Regions from separate parts of the Homo sapiens genome. Here regions 1, 2, 3, 4, 6 and 7 are each linked to region 5. Evidence: promoter capture Hi-C in 16 types of primary human blood cells and fetal thymus (Javierre and others, 2016). All regions are on one chromosome and are shown on one strand. The core of a region is centred on a gene start or on the middle of the fragment in contact, and the rest is flanking DNA. Distances in the headings are between cores, read along the strand shown.

Region 1 (2,700 bases), core at 139-2,638, 730 kb before region 5:
AGATTCAGCTTTACATTTATTGCAAATAAAAGATACGAATATATTCTAATTTATATCCACAGCATAGTTACTATAGCTTATATTACATAAAATCTCGAATGACTGCAACTTCCGACTTCTTTCAGGAGGTCACGAACATGTTACAGGTTTTTTCAAACCTATGTTTTTACAGACAGCTCACTATGTTGCCAAGGCTAGCCTAGAACTATTGGGCTCAAAAGATCTGCCTGCCTCAGTCTCCCGAGTAGCTGGACTACAGGAGCGCACCACCACACCTGGCTTCGAACATGAATGTTTCGGTAAATACTCTCTGCATCCCAAGAATGGAGGGATTAGGTTAAGGGTGGACTTAGTTCTGTCTTCTCCCTCAGAGATCCTATCAGTTCTCAGTGTCAAGCAATGTGTGTCAAGCTACGGCAAAAACGAAGGTAAGCCTGATTAGTTCAATGTTATTTTGGAAACTCTCAAACCATTTAAATTTGAGTCAGAAAAGAATGTTGAGAGAGACGAAAATTCTCTTCAACCACCTTTTTTTCTGGGTTACCACTACAACTGCCACCTTTTCACCAAAAAGACTGCTCAGCCGAACTGAAGAGTTTCTTTGTTTTTCGGACCCAAACTGGGTTCATTCAATGATTGTCGGATACTTTCGTACTTCTTCCAAAAGATCCGTAGTGAGTAGCACCCCTCCTTCCTTTTAGAAAATTTAAGAAAATAAGTTGGGAGAGTAAGAAAAAGAAGGCCAAGAAAATCTCAACCAAGTGCTAAATGAAGGTGCGCTGGAAAGCTCCAAAGACCCTGGAACTTTGCGGAGTCCGCAATTTCCAACCGCGGAGGTGAGTAACCGCGGGACACCGCGATGCGCACGTAACATTTTGTTTGGTACAAAGCGGTAGGCTTCAGAGGTGCAATCCGGCCCGCGAGGTGCCCACAAGTTCCCGCGGGGGCCATGCTAGGGCTGCAGAAGGCATCAGAGTCAGAGACCTGTCAGGACCCCCGCGGGCTGCGCAGGCTGAACTGGAAAGGCGGAGGCCAGAAAGGAAGGTTCTGAGGTTGGCGAAAGGCAAGTGGGCGAATTGCCCCAGGCGAGGCGCCGAGCCCAGCCTGGCCCTCCAGTTCGGCTTCTACGGAGCCAGCGGCCAGCGCGGGACACTCACCCTGGCGGTCGCTGGGATTACAGGCCGCCGCCCTGCATCGCAGACGGAGCCGGCACAGGGAGGACCAGCTACATCTGTGGGCCGCGGCGGCGGCCAAGCCGGGTAACATCCTGGTGGGGCAGAGGCCCCTACTCGGACACCGCCTTCTGCCTCCGCGCCGCCACCGGTACCAACTGACTCCATAGACTGGACATCAGCGAACACCGATGGCTTCGCCGCCACAAGCTGCCTGGGTGACCCGGAAACGGCAACGTCATTTAGCGACGCCTGCCGTGGAGGTAGCGGAAGTGACGTAACACGTTGAGCACCAATAGGGAGGCCTTCCTTCCCGGGGACCCAGACTCCCAAAGTGGGGAGGGCGTGGCTGCAGGGGAAGTTTGGTGTCTGCCGTCTTCTTTTGCACCTGTACTTTTGCGCTTGGTTGGAAATCACGTAAACTGTTTACATCTTGTTCAGCCAGGAAAGCTGTCCTTTGGGAGTTCTACTTATTCCTTTTTTTCTGGACTCGAAACCGGGGCCGTGGTTTCGGAAATGGGAGGAAAGATGGGAAGGATGGACGCAGGTTTTCTGAGCCTCTCTACCTAGAGCCTGCCAGGATAAACCCAAATTAGAACCAACATGTCCAGTACTCTCCGAACGTCTGCCACGTACATCGTTCTCCTTGTTAACACCAGTGTGTATCCAGTATCATAAAGGCAAGTACACACTTCGGAATCAGCTACTTGCCCTACTAATCTGTGAACCTCAGATTTTTGCCTGCAATATAAGAGGTTTTATGTTCATGACAAGTTAGGGTAAACGGAGGTATGCAGACTTCGAAACATTTTGGTCCCAGGGAGAAAGAAACCTGAACAGTATCCACGTTAACTGTTTCTCTCTGCCATGCTCATTCAGCTCTTAACTCAAACTCAAGAGAGGCCTTCCTTGACCACCCTAGCTATGGTAGTCCTGGTCATTCTCTACCCGGCTGTCCTATATACTTTTCTTCAAAACGCTTATCACTATTTGAGATTTTTTTTTCTATTTTGTGTCCTAGAATAGAAAATAAGCATCATGATGCTGGAATCTTGTCTATTTTGTACATGGCTGTATAAAGCCGCTAAAACAATGCCTGGCAAAAATAAATTGAATGGAATGTATGGTGGTTTGTTTTAAAGTTAATCTGAGTCGCTTATCTATATTACTGCAAAATAACTATCTCGGGGAAATTTAGTATGTCCTTAATTTTTAAAAAAATCAACAAGTCTCTTATACTAATTGAGATAAGTATAACCAAATGAGGAAAGAGATTATCGTTAAGAATGGTAAGCAAATTTAATTTCCTATGACAAACATAACTTAAAATATTCAGTGGACAAACATTAAAAAATGATGTCCCATAAATGTAGGCTCAATATTACTAAAAAATCTGAATATTACTGGAAAGTTACTTTCCCTTTCTTGTAATAGATTTTAATAGAAATTCAACTTTATGAAGTAAAAATACATAAAGGCTTACCTCTTATTTTATGGTAACTATGCAAACATCTATTAACTTTTATGG
Region 2 (2,700 bases), core at 24-2,523, 590 kb before region 5:
TAAAATGTATTGAAAGTAATTTGAAATGTACAAATAAAGTATAAAAATTTATGAATTTAAATTTTATCTTAAAATAACCTAGAAAAAATTTCATTTGTGTGCTCTTGAAGACTCTTTCTTGAGTGGGGAGACATAGTTGTTTGTTAGAGCCAGTGCCCTGGGAATGGGGGTGTGTCAGCCTGACAGCATCATCTGTGAACAGTGTGGCAGTGTGAATGCAGTTGATCACTGCTGAACATGAAGACTCCTAAGGCAGCCTCTATCTGTGACAATCAGTGAACTTGGGTCAATTCCGAGGCACAGCTGTAAGTTAAGGAGGTTCATCTTTGGTATTTCCCTGCTCTTTGCTTTTTGCCATTCATCTTCCCCTTTTCCACATGTATCTACACTATTCCTTCTGTCGCTCCCCTCAGCCTGCACCTTGTCCTAGCCTGTTTCTTTCCCCCAAAAGAAATGCACCTATTCCAGTTGTTCTACTCCAAGCTAGTTTTTCTTTTTCTTAAACGAAAATAGGGTCTCCCTTTGTTGCCTAGGTAACTCCTGGGCTCAAGCAGTCCTCCCACCTCAGCCTCCTGAGTAGCTGGGACTACAGGCACACACCACCTACCTCTAGGTTAGTTTTGTATGGTGTAGTTCATGTAACCCTGGTAGTGTTTAAGATTGTTTTGCATAATACCTGGACAAATATTTGAAATGTTAGTCATTAAGTGTTTAAATTGTATTTGAAACACAAACACAACTTGTACATCATGGTTCTGAGATATTATCACTTAGGGCTAGGCTAAAGTAGGAATATACATTTTCTAAAAATAAATCGATTTTAAAAGAAATACTGAGTAAATAATAGCATAGTATATCATGAGATGGAAGTAATCATTAAGGAGGTATCTAAAGGTCTGAAATTGGAAAACATCTGAATAGAATAATTTTTGCCAAGGAAATAGAAAATCACTTAGTGAACTTTACTCTCACTCAAAGTACCAGAAAATCACAAAATAACGTGGTCTTGAGTGACAGAAATAGAAATTATTTGCCATGGAAACTCCAATGATATTATGTATAGTCAATTTTGTTTGGTAATTCCAATGCTGCTGTCTACTATTTCCAATAATTCTTGCTCGTGGTGTCTTGGTTTTTTGTGTGTTCTGTGATTTTTGACCAAGAACTCTTATTCCTTGGGTAATTACTTGGGAATTTATTTGAAGTCTGGCTTGAAGGGTTTTTTTCCCAGGTTCCTTGGGTAAGCCACCCATTCAAAACTACTTTAAATTCTAGGCTTGAGGTTTTTCAGATCTGTAAAGTAATAAGAATTTGAACTATGAGCTCTTTTTTTTTCTTTTCAGTTATCTTTCAGTGAATGGAATACAAACCATTTTGAAGGCCAGCTTTCACTACAATCTATGGTGGAGGTGGTGAAGGAGAGGTTTCTCTCTGCGCTCCTCTACTCAATGCCAAGGTTCAAGAAAGGAAGTTTTCTTGCCATCCTCTTGGAGAATGGGTTTATTTCCACTTCACTTTCACCCGAACACTTTGTCTCTCATCCTCCATGTCCCTTAAGGCCATGAAATCCCAAGTCCCAAATCATGTGGGCTCAGCAAATACTTCCTGATGGTAATTGACTTCAGTGCCCTACATACTTTTCTGGATTCCCGCTTTATTTAATTTTTGCCCTGTGGATATTTCTTACTTATTTTACTTACTCCTTGATGCATTTACAAAGTTTAAAAAATATAAAAGAACTCTCACAGATAGTTGTATGGGGAGGTAAATTTGTACAACCACTTTGGAAAACTGTTTGGCAGTATATACTAAGGCTAACCCTATGCACACCTATGATGCAACAATTTCATTCTTGGGTGTTTAACCAACAGAAAGATATATACAAATTCTCCAAAAGACACTTATAAGAATGTTCACAGCAGCTTTATTCATAGTAGCCTTAAAAGTAGAAACTATACAAACACCCATCAACAGAATGGCTAAATAAATTGTGGCATGTTTATATTACGTATAGTTTACACCACTATACCGAGATTGGGAATGAACAAAGTACAATTACATGTAATAACATGAATGTATTCCGCAAGCATAAATAAAGAACCCAGACACAAAAGAGAACATAGTTTGTGATTTCATTTACATAAAATTCAAAATCTATGCTGTTAGAAGTCAGCGTAGTGTTTATTCTTGGAGGATTAGTAACTGAAATGAAACTCAAGGGAGGCATTTGTGGTGCTGATAATTTGTTCTTTCTTTTTTTAAAACATGTATCTGCTGAGACATGTTCTGTCTTAGTCTGGGTGCTGGTTACACAAATCTGTCCAGTTTGCAAAAATTCATCAAGATAAACACAAGATATTTGCATTTCTCTGAATATACATTTTACCTTTCTAAGAAGGAAAAACACCTTTACATCATTTAAAAATGTTTCTAGTGGGAAGAGTTATCAGAATAAGTGGTTTGTCACATTTCACTTAACGAAAGTGGATTTTGTTTGCCATGACATTGAATTTCCAGCATCTAGCACATTATTTGGCACATAGTAAGTTCTCAATAAATATTGGTAGAACCATACATTTGGAACTTAATTTTTTTTTTTCTTTGAGACGGAGTATCTCTCTGCCGCCCAGGCTGGAGTGCAGCGGCGCCATCTCAGCTCACTGCAAGCTCCGCCTCCCGGGTTCACGCCATTCTCCTGCC
Region 3 (2,974 bases), core at 144-2,643, 640 kb before region 5:
ACAAAACCACATGATTATCTCAATAGATGCAGAGAAGGCCTTTGATAAAATTCAAAACCCCTTCATGCTAAAAATTCAATAAACTAGATATTGATGAAAGGTATCTCAAAATAATAAGAGCTATTTATGACAAACCCACAGCCAGTATCACACTGAATGGGCAAAAGCTGGAAGCATTCCCTTTGAAAACAAGCACAAGACAAGGATGCTTTCTCTCACCACTCCTATTCAACACAGTATTGCAAGTTCTGGCCAGGGCAATCAGGCAGGAGAAAGAATAAAGGGTATTCAAATAGGAAGAGAGGAAGTCAAATTGTCTGTGTTTGCAGATGACATGATTTTATATTTAGAAAACCCCATCATCTCAGCCCCAAATCTCCTTAAGCTGATAAGCAACTTCAGCAAAGTCTCAGGATACAAAATCAATGTGCAAAAATCACAGGCATTCCTATACAACAATAATAGACAAACAGAGAGCCAAATCATGAGTGAACTCCCATTCACAATTGCTACAAAGAGAATAAAATACCTAGGAATACAACTTACAGGGGATGTGAAGGATGTGTAGAATTACAAACCACTGCTCAAGGAAATAAGAGAGGACACAAACAAGTGGAAAAACTTTTCATGCTCATGGATAGGAAGAATCAATATCATGAAAATGGCCAAACTGCCCAAAGTATAAATTAAATGCTATCCCCACGAAGCTACCATTGTCTTCCTTCACAGAATTAGAAAAAACTACTTTAAATTTCATATGGAACCAAAAAAGAGCCTGTATAGCTAAGACAATCCTAAGCAAAAAAAAAAAAAAAAAAACAAAGCTGGATGTATCATGCTACCTGACTTCAAACTATACTACAAGGCTACAGTAACCAAAACAGCATGGTACTGGTACCAAAACAGATATATAGACCAATGGAACAGAACAGAGACCTCAGAAATAATGCCACACATTTACAACCATCAGATCTTTGACAAACCTGACAAAAACAAGCAATGGGGAAATATTCCCTATTTAATAAATGGTGTTGGGAAAACCTGGCTAGCCATATGCAGAACACTGGAACTAGACCCCTTCCTTATACCTTACACAAAAATTAACTCAAGATGGATTAAAGACTTAAACGTAAGACCTAAAACCGTAAAAACCCTAGAAGAAAACCTAGGCAGTACCATTCAGGGCATAGGCACGGGGAAGGACTTCATGACTATCACACCAAAAGCAATGGGAACAAAAGCCAAAATTGACAAATGGGATCTAATTAAACTAAAGAGCTTCTGCACAGCAAAAGAAACTGTCATCAGAGTGAACAGGCAACCTACAGAATGGGAGAAAACTTTTGCAATCTATCCGTCTGACAAAGGGCTAATATCCAGAATCTACAAGGAACTTAAACAAATTTACAAGAAAGAAACAAACAACCCCATTAAAAAGTGGGCAAAGGATATGAACAAGTGCTTCTCAAAAGAAGATATTTATGCAGCCAACAAATATATAACAAAAAGCTCATCATCACTGGTCATTAGAGAAATGCAAATCAAAAACACAGTGAGATACCATCTCACGCCAGTTACAATGCTAATCATTAAAAAGTCAGGAAACAACAGGTGCTGGAGAGGATGTGGAGAAATAGGAACGCATTTACACTGCTGGTGGGAGTGTAAATTAGTTCAACCATTGTGGAAGATAGCGTGGCGATTCCTCAAGGATCTAGAACCAGAAATACCATTTGACCCAGCAATCCCATTACTGGGTATATACCCAAAGGACTATAAATCATGCTGCTATAAAGACACATGCACACATATGTTTATTGAAGAACTGTCACACATATGTTTATTGAAGAACTGTTCACAATAGCAAAGACTTGGAGCCAACCCAAATGCCCATCAATGATAGACTGGATAAAGAAAATGTGGCACATATACACCATGGAATACTATGCAGCCATAAAAAAGGATAAGTTCATGTCCTTTGCAGGGACATGGATGAAACTGGAAACCATCATTCTCAGCAAACTAACACAGGAACAGAAAACCAAACACCACATGTTCTCACTCACAGGTGGGAATTGAACAATGAGAGCACATGGACACAGGGAGGGGAACATCACACACCAGGGCCTGTCAGGGGTTTGGGGGCTAGGGGAGGGAGAGCATTAGGAGAAATATCTAATGTAGATGACGGGTTGATCAGTGCAGCAAACCACCATGGCATGTGTATACCTGGGTAACAATCCTGCATGTTCTGCACATGTATTACAGAACTTAAACTATATATATATTAAAAAAAGTTCAGAAATTGTGCACACAATTCAGCCTCTTCAAAAACAGACATGAATGATAATAAATATGTGTATATACAATCTATGTGTGTACATATATACACACAAATATATGTTTATAAATATACACACATTTACAAATATCAGCTCATACATAAAGAGACATTATCAATAGTTAAACAGCATAAATAGAACACCTACATTCTAAAATACAACCACTGTTAAATGTATTGGAAAAGAGAAATACAGACACATTTTCTACTTATCAATATTTCAAAGTGTTTGTGAAAAATTTATCACTCTGTGCTTCTGGTAGGTTCAGTTGTCAATTCTGGGATTTTATACCATCTAGTAATAAGGCTTAAATCAATTATCATAAGGAACAATGATCTACCCTGAGATATTTGCTTAATATGGATAATCCAAAATTGTTTGTAAGAGAACATGAACTTTTTCTTAAAACATTTACAGTATTCATTTTTGTCAAATTTTAGCAATTTAGCTCTAACTTAATTCTTCTTCTAACGATTTTGTAAAGGGAAGTGGGTAGGTTCATACGCCTGTGCAGAATATCAAAGTCCAAGTGTAAACAATTATATATTTTTTTAACATTTGGACCAAAGTCCAAATTATCTTTACAATAATGTAAAGATGCTATCAGGAAATTAATTCCACTGGAATTGGAT
Region 4 (2,809 bases), core at 141-2,640, 700 kb before region 5:
TTTACAACCCAAATCAAAGTTGAATAATACATCCAATTCCCCTAAATTTATCTATGCGTTGAGACTGAAATGCACATTATTCCCCCACAACTCCTCCCCCTACCCCATTCCCAATCAATTACCTTACCTATAAAACCTTCCATTTAACCTTTTAAGTCAGATTTGATGGGTAAACATGTAATCTACAGTATACTCTCCATTATTATTTCAGGATAGACACACATATAGTCAGATGCTGAATCTTCATTACATTCCTTTCAAAAGGCATCTAAACTGTTGCAATTGTCTATGAAAATTCAAGCCTAAGAAACCAAGAAAACTGGCAGTCAAGATTCTGAACTAGGTAGTTCTACAAACTATAATACGAATAATCTATATGTCCACATTAGTAAAAGAAGGATTTCCTGTTTGAGAAATGTTTCTCAATGGCTCTTTGAAGGGAAAGCTGTGTCACTACTGCTTTCTGCTTTCAATGGCTAGGTGACCCCAAATATTTATCCAACTGGCTAAGAGGCTTACAGTTGAGCCTTTTAAAAAATACTCAAGGCCACAGAAGTACTTACGGAAATAAAATTTTAGAAGATCATAGTTTAAGATACATAGAATTCTTCTTATAATGGTACATTCAAAACACATCTGTCCTAACAAAGCAGCATAAAACCAATTAAAAAAACAATTTGAAATTAAATACACTGAGAAGTGTTAAAATCATTAACCAAAATTACTGAATGGTAGAATACTGTCTCAAAATGTACTGAATTCACATATGTGTATCACCATAATGAATTCATGCCAGATATAAACTCAGGTTACCAATTAGGTTGAAACAAATTTTAGAGCTATTTTTTTTACATGAGAAATTAATGTACTTCATGATATAGGCACAACAGCATCTTTTTAAAAAAACTGGTATATTTATCACTAGATACAGACTTCTTTAACCATTAGCAACACAGCGCAGTAAAATTTTCTCAAAACTTTTTAAGCTTGATTTAACATGCCAAGAAAATGATTATTTTTCCACCGAGATGCATTTATGTAAATTATGTAAATTGGATTGAGGTCAGTGTAACACCTGGAATTTACAACCCCTAGCAGAAGTACCAGCTGCTAATAATGCTTATACTATATTTGTAGCTTAACTAGATGTTAAACTATGGAACTGTTGGTGCCAATCTGCTTATAAAGGCAATGCTCTGGAGACAAAGTCTTCTCACAAACAGTGGGCAAGCAGGTTTCATTATTATGTGTTCAACAACAATCCTCAGTTCATTAAATAAGGTCCTGCAAGACAAAATAGTTTTCTTTGAGAAACACAAGGAAAAAGCAATACACAGGCTTACCTCATTTTATTGTACTCCATAGATATTTCATTTTTTACAAATTGAAGGTTTGTTGCAACACCGCATACAGCAAGACTATCAGTGCCACTTTCCAACAGCATGTGCTCACTTCATGTCTCTGCGTCACACTTTGCCAATTCTTCCACTATTTCAAATGTTTTCATTATTAATCTATTATGGTGATCTGTGATCTGTTCTGTTACGGTGATCTCTTTGGTGTTACTATTGTAACTGTTTTGGGGCACCACAAACTGCACAAATATAAGATGAAGCAGTTCATGAAGGCCATTCCTGATTGGTCTCTTTCCCTCTCCTCAGACCTACCTATTCTTTGAGACACAATACTGAAATTAGGCCAATTAATAACCCTGTAATGGCCTCTAAGTGCTCAGGTGAAAGGAGGCCTCCCATGTCTGTTACTTTAGATGAAAACTAGAAATGATTAAGCTTAGTGAAAAAAGCATGGCTAAAGCTAAGACAGGCCAAAAGCTAGACCTCTTGTGCCAAATAGCCAAGCTGTGAATGCAAAGGAAAAGTTCCTGAAGAAAATTAAAAGCCCATTTCTGTGAACGGATGAATGATAAGAAAGCAGAACAGCCTTACTGCTGATGGTAATGCTATTGCGCACTTAGCAGACTACAGTAGAGTGTAAACATAACTTCTGTATGCACTGGAAAACCAAAAAATTCATCTGACAGCTTTGTGATATTCACTTTATTGTGGTAGTCTGGAACCACTCCCACAACATTTCTGAAGTATGCCTCTAATGCTAAACAAATACTCATGAAGGAATCTACCATAGCCATTAGAATTTGAAGTAAAAGAATAACTAGAATGCATTGTAGAGAAAACACAAAATACAATGAAATTCTCAAACAACACCTACATCTTTTATGGGTGGAAACACTCATTTAACAAAGGTATTTAATAAATGGCTATCTCTAAAACCTCAGATTAAATTTTAAAAATTATATATATATATTTTAGAGTCACATCATTTTCACATTTAACTTAGGCAATTTCAACTAGTTTTTTAAAACAGAACAAGAAAAAATATACTACATGGACAGTGTTTTTTATATATTTTAAAATATATAACATGGACAGTTATATTTATTCACCCACTATTTCCTTAAATGTACATATTGTCCCTCAGAGATTTCCTCTTCTGTAAAATAATTCTGAGTTGTGGTGAAATTTAAATGCAATATGGAAGATGCTCAATAAATGTTACTTCCCAGTTGGATCAATACACTGAACTATGACTCTTTTATGCCTTCCGACTAAAGCCCAAGTACTCGGTGTCACACCCAATACCCTCCACAATCTAGTCTCAATCTAATTTTCTGCCCCATCTCCTGCCACTCCCTGCCCTCGCTCCTATCATCAACTTATGTTGCATGTTTGTGCCCAAAACCATGTGGGCTTTGCCTATGTCTTAACTGTGCTCACTGCCTACAAAGTAT
Region 5 (2,700 bases), core at 142-2,641:
ATGATTAAGCTTTAAGAAATACATTCAAGAGGCTAAAAACCAAGTGTGCAAGTGGTGGGAGTGGAGAAGAGAGAAGAACCCCTTAAGACCATCAGAAACCCAAGTAATGGAGGCGGAGAATTAGCGAACCTAATTGTTTCCCTGCGATTTAGGTCAGCCCTTCCCCCTCCATTCTACAGCTAGGTGGGAGTCTGAGAAGCAAACAATGAGTTGACAGGTTATAGCCCTTAAAGGGAAACCAGCAGCCATTCCCCGGAACCGGAGGCTCGAAAAAGCCCAAGTTCGAGGGAACTCATGAGTAGGATGAATGATTTCCCTGGATAACGGGATAGATGGAACTGAGATACTGCCTCTCTTCCAAATTTAAGGCAATTGTGGACGGATGGGCAAGAAGGCGACAGGCACCGCTGGAACAGGAGCCCAGGGAGTAGGTACCACGAAAATGCAGGCTCCTCCCTTCCTTGTAGGCGCGCCCCGCATCACCTACAGGGGAGGGGGCGGGGCGGGGAGCCCCCGAGGACTCAAGCTGGGGAGCGGCGTGCACTGCCGGCGGCCGGCGCATCCTGGGCCCCACGCCCTACCTGGGCCGTGAGGGGAAACAGCAGCAGCAGCGCGCAGGCAGGCGCTGGCACCGAGCCCAGAGACTCCTCTTCCAGCCCCAGCACGTCCACGAAGCGCCACTGGCCGGCGACCCCCAGCCGGGACAGCACCTGCGGAGAGGAGACAAGGCGGCCAGGCGCACGGGGACACGCGGGTCGCGGGCACCTGCCAGGGGGCGGGGCCAGGAGGCGCGCGCCCTCCGCGCCCGCACCCGAGCCTGGGAGGAGCCCCAGTCCCGCCCTGCCACCCCCACCCGGGCCGGCGCAATGACACAGCACAAAGCGCGGCCCACACGTGGCGCCCGCGAAGCCCGTGCAGCCGAGTCTGTGCTGCCCGCGCCACGCCCTCGGGAGCTCCGCCTGGCGCTCGCTCGCCACGGGGCGCAGCCCCCTCCGTCTCCCCGTGACCGGTTTCGTAGAGTCACCCGCTAAATGCAGGGGCCCAGGAAAGGCGCCCAGCCCACGCCCCAGCCCGGCCGTCTCCGGTGCTCGCAGCGGGCGGCTTGGTCCCTGCCAGCAGCCGGAACCGGTGGGCGCCCCCGCCTCGGCGCTCGCGGGGGAGGGGGCCAGAGACGGCGCGAGACGCCACTCACTTTGTTCAGCATCTGAAAGGCAAATGCAAAGAAAAAGGCAAAACCGAACCGATCAGCGACTCGGCTCCCCCTCCCTCGGCCTCGCGCTCTCCGGGTAGCGGTGCACCTGGCGCTCACCTCGGGGTTGATCTCCATCGGCTTGAGCTGCATCTTCGCGGAGCGCCCGGCAGAAATAGCCTAGGGAAGACGAAAAACAGCTAGCGGAGCCGCCCAGGCTGCAGCTATAAAGCGCCGGCCAGACGCACTGTGAGGCCTGTGCAGGGGGAGCAGGGGCAGAACCAAGCGAGGGGGAAACGGACGGTCGCGGCCAGATGGGTACGAACCCCCCGTGCGCAGCGCGGAGTGGTACGGCCGGGCCCCCAAACCTTGCAGTCTCACTCGCCGGTGAGATAATCTGGTGGTTGTGGAGACGGGATTTGTTGGTGGGTGTTCCTTGAGTGTATGGAGCAGTCCTTTTGATGGAGTCTTTAATTTTGGGCGAAGTTTCTGGAAACCCATCCTTTCACCATCCCAATTACTCTAAAGCTCGAGTCTCTGAAGCATTTGAGAAAAAGCACAAATTCAACAGGTATATATTTAATACGAATGAATGTAAATGTGTGCCCCCCGCCCCAAATCTCTCAGCAGTTTGCGTTTAACCTTAGACAATTCCTCCTCCATGTTAAGTCAGACCAGTACCGAGGTTCGTTTTTAAGTGACTACCTAGAATAAAACAGAATCTGGTAGATAACAGATACTGCATTAGGAATGCTGATGTAATGTGACTCCCGCGGAAGAAATGGTTGGTCCTGGGAGAGCAGTAGAAAGCTGGGGGATGTGAGGGTAATACAAGACACAAAGAAGGCAGGCGATTGGAGACTTGAGAAAACAGATCCAGGGAAAAGATGGGTATGATTTTGAGCGAGAGGCTGTAAAAGGAAAAGCATTTTTAAAAGAATGGGAAGCTTTGAAAAATAAAATGTCTGAGTTCACCGCAGAATACTCCCAATGAAGAAGAAAGGGAATGGCAACCAAGGAAACCACTGTTCTCTAATGATCTCAGGTGATCTCTAATGATCTCTAGTCAAAAGATGGAGAGAGAAAGCATTTGCTGAAGAATGAATTTTAAAAGGGACCAAAATCTATAAGAATTGTGCCAGGAAAGCTAAGCTGCAGAACAAAGTGGGCTTGCAGAAATACTTAGGTAGCGAAGGAAGCAAGAAGGTTGAGTATTTTTTAAAAATAGGCACCGAAGAGAATAATGATGATGGTAAAAGAATAGACCTTCTATTTAGGAAGTTGAGGTTAACAGATGACAGAGGGAAGGGAGGGAATCAACATTTTTTGAGTTATTGTTTTTGGGGATCCTTTGCATGTGTCTCTCATTTAATCCTTAGAGGAGCCGTGAAGAGACTCATATTAGTGCAATTTTACAGATCAGAATCCCAGGCCTAGAGAAGTTAATTTGCTTACGGTCACAATTGAAAAGTAAAACTGAGAAGTAAACCCTGCTAAACTGGGCTCCAAGA
Region 6 (2,747 bases), core at 73-2,572, 680 kb before region 5:
ACTGTTCTAGATTAAAAGGCAGTAAACAAGATATGGCCAGTAAATTGAATGCATGCTTTCTGAGATAGGGTCTCGCTCTGTCACCCCAGGCTGGAGCGCAAAAGCACAACCCACCTCAGCCTCCTGAGTAGCTGGGACTATGCTGGGACTATAGGAGCGCACCTCCACGACCGGCTAATTTATGTTTGTTTGTTTGTTTGTTTGTTTTGAGAGAAGGTTTTGCTCTATCACCCAGGCTGGAGTGCAGTGGCGCGATCTTGGCTCACGGCAGCTTCAACTTCTCGGGCGCAAGCGATCCACCCGCCTTGGCCTCCCAAAGTGCTGAGATTACAGGCGTGAGCCACCACGCCCCGCCTAATTTCTTTGATTTCTAGTAGAGATGAGGTCTCGCTATGTTTCCAAGGCTGGTCTCTAACTCCTGAACTCAAGCGATCCTCCCGCCTTGGACTCCCAAAGTTCTGGGCTTACAGGAGTGAGCCACTGCGCCAGCCCATCGATGCATGCTTTTTGACAGAATCCCAGATGAAGAGAAAGCAGCTTTAAAGGACAATTATGGAAATTTGCACATGGATTTTATATTAGGTAATATTTCCCAAATGTGGTAACTGCATTGTGGTCACACAGAATAATACTTAACTACTTATGGATTAAAAAGTAGAGGACAGCAATGCTCCGGGCACAAATAACTTGTTAGCTCCAGATCAGCATCTTAAAAAAATTACAAAAGCATAATGATATTTCTCTTCATAAAGAACAAAGTGAAGAAGAAAAAGACCACCGCTCTCCTCCCTTTGCATAATTTCTATATACGATTGTATAAACTAGGCAGAAACGTTCTTTGCCGGCACTCGTGTGCTCCACGTGGTGTGTGTCATGGATCATGTGTGTCATGGCACAATCTCATGCGGCATCTTTAACCTTGGGGCCTACGGTAAACAAAAGACCGAGGTGGGAGAAGAGGAAAGAAGGCCCAATTTCCATGGCATACAGGTGGGGGCCACCAGCTCCAGGTCAGCCTATTGTCGCTTCAGAAACAAACTTGTAGTTCCCTCCATATCTTCGCTCAGGACCTCCCCTCTCCCCGCTCCAACTTCCCCACCCCAACTCATTAATCCCATTCCTGAATGCACTGAGCTTCTGGAACGCCTCGGGACTCGCAACGCTTCCTGCTTCTTCCTAACTCTTGCAAATCAAGCCAGACTACCCTGCCCTCGCACTTACCACAGCGCCCGCCCCTTGGGGGCCGTTCGGGGTCGTATCTGCCATGGGGGCTCACACTAGCGTCTGCGACGCCGCAACCGCGAAGAGAGAAGAAAGGGGAGAGAAAACGTCAGCGCTGGGGCCAGGACCCGGGTACCGGCTTCCCTGCCTCGCGCCACACACAGGCCGGATGCACCCTGCCGGAACTCTGAGCCTCCACCAGGGAAGGGTCTCGCTCGCCTGGTGCAGCCGACTGGATCCAGGGCACCCGCAGCAGCCGGGAGGTACCTGTCCCGCACCGCCGAGATCAAAGCGGTGTTTCCAGAAAGACGGGAGCGAAGGTGGAGCTTCGGGGTGAAGCCCTAAAGAGCCAACCTACGCCGCCGGCTCCAGGTTATTGCCGAACCCGGAAGTGCTCCTTTCATTTCCGTGGGGAAGAGGCGGTGACAAAGAGGGGGAAACGGGAGCGGTGCCCAGAGGCATGACGGGAAGTGTGGTTTTTTTCTCCTAATTTGAGCCCCACCTGTCCTTCCGCCGATTGGCCCAGTGAGCTAAGAAATCAGGATGGGGGAGCAACTTTTGCATTAAATACAGCTCACAAATGATCTTTCCTGCCCATTCTCAAACCATGAAATTTCCGCACTTCCTGATATAGAGGCCTCAGAAACATCTTTGATTCCTTTCTCCAGGGGCTTACTAAGCCCGTTGGTTCTACGTCTATTATTAATTCTTTCAATAAGTATTTATGAGGCCTGCTATGTGACAGGCTCCATACTTGGCACGGCGGATAAAAAGAGGAATATGACACAGATTGCAAAAGAGAAACAAGTAAACGGAAATCAGAGCATAGTGATTGTGTAATATGTGTAGAGGCTGATTTAATCACAGGGAGCACAGAGGACGGTACCTAAATCAGAAGGGATCTGGGGAGGTTTCCTGGAAAAGGTAAGTCCGGGCCTTGATCTTGAACGACAAAAAGTTGGCTGAAAGTGTTACTGGTGTAGGGTGTCCAAGTTCTTGGCGTTTTGAACATAGAATTGGACAAAACGCACAAAGCAAGGAAAGAATAAAGCAACAAAAGCAGAGATTTGTTGAAAATGAAAGTACACTCCAGAGTGTGGGAGAGTGAGACAGCAGCTCAAGGGCCCTGGATACAGAGTCTTCTCGGGTCCAAATACCCCCTAGAGGTTTCCCATTGGCCACTTGGAGTTCACTTCATGTAAATGAAGTGGTGGCCCGCAATCAGTCTGAATGGTTGCGCAAAGCAACCAATCAGAGGCTGAAGAAGTTACAAAGTTACACTTCTATGCAAACGTCTGATTGGTTACAAAAAGCAACCAATCAGAGGTACTTTCAATTTCCCAAATCTGCGCAGAACAGGTTGGGGCTTGCAAAGGGAGTAGTATCTGGCCCTTTATTCACTTAAGCGTGGACAGTAAGGATTTTCCTTCAATTTAGTTCTAGGAAGTCAGCGAGAAAGGGCATTAGGTTCCCTACCGCCATACCATATTCTTCTGCCTTAAAACGGGAAGGGAACTCCATACAGA
Region 7 (2,863 bases), core at 134-2,633, 610 kb before region 5:
TGATGTTTATTTAATGAAGAAATGTATGAGCAGCTGCTGTTTCCCAATTTCAGATGTAGTTATCTTTCATTGCTTTGCAACAAATCAGGAAGAACAGATTTTAGCTGTAATTTGGGATCATTCCATTAGATATGCAGGGCTACACCAGCAGATTCATAAACAAAAACAATGAGGCTGGTTTAAGGAATAAAATATAATAACTCTTGGGATGGAATCTGTGGGTTGTGTTTTCAGATCTATTGCTAGTTTCTAGGTCATAAATATTTTCAAGTTTAGACTAAGCCCTAAAGGCCTTTATAGATAAATAAAAACCCAATCTGACACTGATTCTTAACTGACCTTGTGGTATTATTGCAGATGAAGGCATGAGGTTAATTTCTGTTACCCAGTGCATGGTGGGCATTGCCAACACCATAATGTCCCTCTAACTATGACAAGGAAAAGTGTCATAGACAAATGGGGCTATGATATGGCCCAGAGGGTTTATGGGGCAATTGCTCGCAGGACAGATATTCATAGCAGGTATATCGAGCTGCAGATGCACTGTTTATTTGATTCCTACTTAAAAATTTGAGGCTTGTGTGTGTGTGTGTGTATATATATATATGTGTATATATATATGTGTATATATATGTGTATATATATATGTGTATATATATGTGTGTATATATATGTGTATATATATGTGTATATATGTGTATATATATGTGTATATGTATATATGTATATATGTATATGTATATATATATGTATATATGTATATGTGTATATATGTATATATGTGTATATATGTATATATGTGTATATATGTATATATATGTGTATATATGTATATATGTGTATATATGTATATATGTGTGTATATATGTATATATATGTGTATATATATGTATATATATGTATATATATATATTTGGTACTTGTCTACCTTTTGAACAAATACGAATTAGGGGAACATATACTGATTGTTCTCTTCTGTTATCAATACACATGCTGGGCCTCTTCAAAAGAAATAAAGTTTGTATTTGGCAACCTTAATAGCAGACTCTCTACTTAAGAGAGCAATTATGATAAACTTTTTATAACTTTGGCATTGGGTACAGAATTAACTACAGTCTTACAACTTTTCCATGATATTTCTTATGAACAATTTCCAAGTTTGATGGAGGGGATCATTTAAGAATGGTAGCCCGGAGTCTGCTATAACATGGCCTACTATATGTTAAGGTTAAGTTATAGTTATATTTTTAAATTCTCCATCCAGGGCCAATAAAAATGATGAGTTTATTTGGAAAGTTCTTTTATAATGCAGATTTTCTCCTTTTTTCTTTCTTTTTTTTTTAGTTTCACCATGATACATATTTATTAATTTTTAATGTGTTTATTGGTAACTAAGGCAAAGTATTTGTCTGATTTAGGCTCTCAGAGGCTCTAAGTATTTCATGCAAATTCCTACTGTGAAGCTGGAATAAAGAAGAGGGAAAAAGAGGTGATTTGAACTATTACCCAGTACCAGTCAGCTCTAATAACTTAGTAGAGGTGAGGACCACACATTTTGATTAATCTCTAATTGATCTGTTCCCTATTATGCATCTGGCAAATGAGCTTGCTGGTGAACTGACTGCTGTGGCCAAACACATAGCAGATATTAGGAAGTAGCCATTCGCTGAGTTAAAAACACAGGGACTCTGAGACCACCTGTTTTAAATGTGGACCCTCCCATTTAACAGTTGTGCGACCTTGGGCAAACTACTTAACCTCTCTGCTGTTCAGTTTCCTCATGACCAGGATTTAGCAATTAATACTTGCTAAGTGCTTAGAACAAAATAGTACACCTTACTCGTTGCAATGATGAGGCTCCCACTCAATGCCTGCCTTCGCTACAAACCCCTCACAGCAAGGGTCCCTTTGCTTCCGGACCCTTGGGAAAGCAGCCTCCACTCAGGTCGGAAGACTTCCAGCCCCCGACTGCTTCCGGAATGTTCTGCCCACATTTTAACACCTTGACCTTCCCTAAAGCCTGAGCTGGAGCGGAATGGAGTTTGACCAGGAGCAAGGCCAGGGACCTCGCACCCAGGCGGATGGCAGAGACTCGGAGGGGCGCAGAGAGGCCCGGAAGCAGCGGGAGCAGGCCAGGCGCACCCAGGGTGCATGCTAATAAGGGGCGCCGGCAGAGCCCGCCGCCGCCTGCGCGCCCGCAGTGCAGGAGCCGCGCCCCGGCAGGGGCACGCGGTGCCACTCAGGCCGGCGGGGGGCGCGCAGCTCGCAGCAGCCGCGCGCCCGGGCCTCTCAAAGCCCCTTTCAGCAGCTCTGCGGGCTCCTCACCGGAGGAGTCTGGCGCGACATAAAAGCGCATTATGAAAATTATAATATCAGCCACAGAGCATGTCCACCGAGGCAGCTCTGCATCTTTGAGGCATTGAGCCTCGTTCAGCTGGGCCGAGGAGGGAAATATCCATTTCAATTCGGTCCCTGAATGGGGGCAGCGGCTGCGGCAACCACAACAGTGCCTCCTTTATCCGTTCGGCCACTTCTCCTGCTTGCTCATTCCCTGGCTGTTGCACCTTGTCTCCTTATGGGCTGGGATGTGGAGCGGGAGGGGCGCAGGAAGGATAAGGGAGCAGAAGTGGGGGGCCCCGATTCACAGCCGTGCTGGGACAAGAAGCGTTGTCATTTGAGCCCCCACGAGAATGATAAATGAGGCTTTCTAGGGCCTGAGGAAATTTTCGTTCTGCTGGGGAGCGGAAGAGTGGAGGGTCAAGACCTGGGTGCATTTTTCGGAGGCTGGAAGGGAGTGGATTTGGGGGTCGTGCCCCATTTTCTTGCCTATGTGCTAAGCGAGAGATGCCAGCATTAGGGCGTT

Evidence for each region. Contacts are between HindIII fragments. The CHiCAGO score rates a contact against its expected background, and 5 or more counts as called.
Region 1: a contact is called between the fragment with the promoter of SLC30A9 here and the fragment with the promoter of UCHL1 in region 5, in 4 of 17 cell types (M1 macrophages, M0 macrophages, M2 macrophages and 1 more). The highest score is 12.9, in M1 macrophages.
Region 2: a contact is called between a fragment that was not itself captured here and the fragment with the promoter of UCHL1 in region 5, in 1 of 17 cell types (monocytes). The highest score is 5.5, in monocytes.
Region 3: a contact is called between a fragment that was not itself captured here and the fragment with the promoter of UCHL1 in region 5, in 2 of 17 cell types (M1 macrophages and M2 macrophages). The highest score is 5.6, in M1 macrophages.
Region 4: a fragment that was not itself captured here is called in contact with the fragment with the promoter of UCHL1 in region 5 in 1 of 17 cell types (M0 macrophages); the score reaches 7.0 in M0 macrophages.
Region 6: the fragment with the promoter of TMEM33 here is called in contact with the fragment with the promoter of UCHL1 in region 5 in 3 of 17 cell types (M2 macrophages, M0 macrophages and M1 macrophages); the score reaches 17.7 in M2 macrophages.
Region 7: a fragment that was not itself captured here is called in contact with the fragment with the promoter of UCHL1 in region 5 in 12 of 17 cell types (monocytes, M2 macrophages, total B cells and 9 more); the score reaches 9.6 in monocytes.

What each region holds. Positions count from the first base shown.
Region 1 is chr4:41,989,218-41,991,917 of GRCh38, reverse strand. SLC30A9 (solute carrier family 30 member 9) reads right to left here and starts at 1,388. Exons shown (of 18, transcript NM_006345.4): 1 at 1,158-1,388. The coding sequence starts at 1,266. RefSeq lists enhancers at 1,217-1,356, 1,637-1,716 and a silencer at 1,288-1,507. The HindIII fragment of the contact is 8,038 bases long and covers 1-2,700 here.
Region 2 is chr4:41,850,384-41,853,083 of GRCh38, reverse strand. No RefSeq gene overlaps it. Among named protein-coding and RNA genes, the nearest start is that of LINC00682, 31 kb to the left of the region's middle. The HindIII fragment of the contact is 5,985 bases long and covers 1-2,700 here.
Region 3 is chr4:41,899,905-41,902,878 of GRCh38, reverse strand. No RefSeq gene overlaps it. Among named protein-coding and RNA genes, the nearest start is that of LINC00682, 19 kb to the right of the region's middle. The HindIII fragment of the contact is 6,769 bases long and covers 1-2,974 here.
Region 4 is chr4:41,952,545-41,955,353 of GRCh38, reverse strand. TMEM33 (transmembrane protein 33) reads right to left here. Exons shown (of 7, transcript NM_018126.3): 7 at 1-1,284. The coding sequence ends at 1,155. Among named protein-coding and RNA genes, the nearest start is that of TMEM33, 19 kb to the right of the region's middle. The HindIII fragment of the contact is 804 bases long and covers 989-1,792 here.
Region 5 is chr4:41,255,619-41,258,318 of GRCh38, reverse strand. UCHL1 (ubiquitin C-terminal hydrolase L1) reads right to left here and starts at 1,391. Exons shown (of 9, transcript NM_004181.5): 1 at 1,310-1,391; 2 at 1,193-1,204; 3 at 582-710. The coding sequence starts at 1,342. It overlaps UCHL1-DT (UCHL1 divergent transcript), which reads left to right and starts at 1,592. Exons shown (of 3, transcript NR_102709.1): 1 at 1,592-1,760. RefSeq lists an enhancer at 181-681 and a silencer at 516-1,275. The HindIII fragment of the contact is 2,127 bases long and covers 12-2,138 here.
Region 6 is chr4:41,934,004-41,936,750 of GRCh38, reverse strand. It overlaps TMEM33 (transmembrane protein 33), which reads right to left and starts at 1,322. Exons shown (of 7, transcript NM_018126.3): 1 at 1,222-1,322. The coding sequence starts at 1,266. LOC105374426 (a long non-coding RNA gene) reads left to right here and starts at 2,076. Exons shown (of 3, transcript NR_188374.1): 1 at 2,076-2,145. RefSeq lists enhancers at 933-1,002, 1,013-1,062, 1,303-1,482. The HindIII fragment of the contact is 15,520 bases long and covers 1-2,747 here.
Region 7 is chr4:41,866,648-41,869,510 of GRCh38, reverse strand. No RefSeq gene overlaps it. Among named protein-coding and RNA genes, the nearest start is that of LINC00682, 15 kb to the left of the region's middle. The HindIII fragment of the contact is 3,839 bases long and covers 1-2,863 here.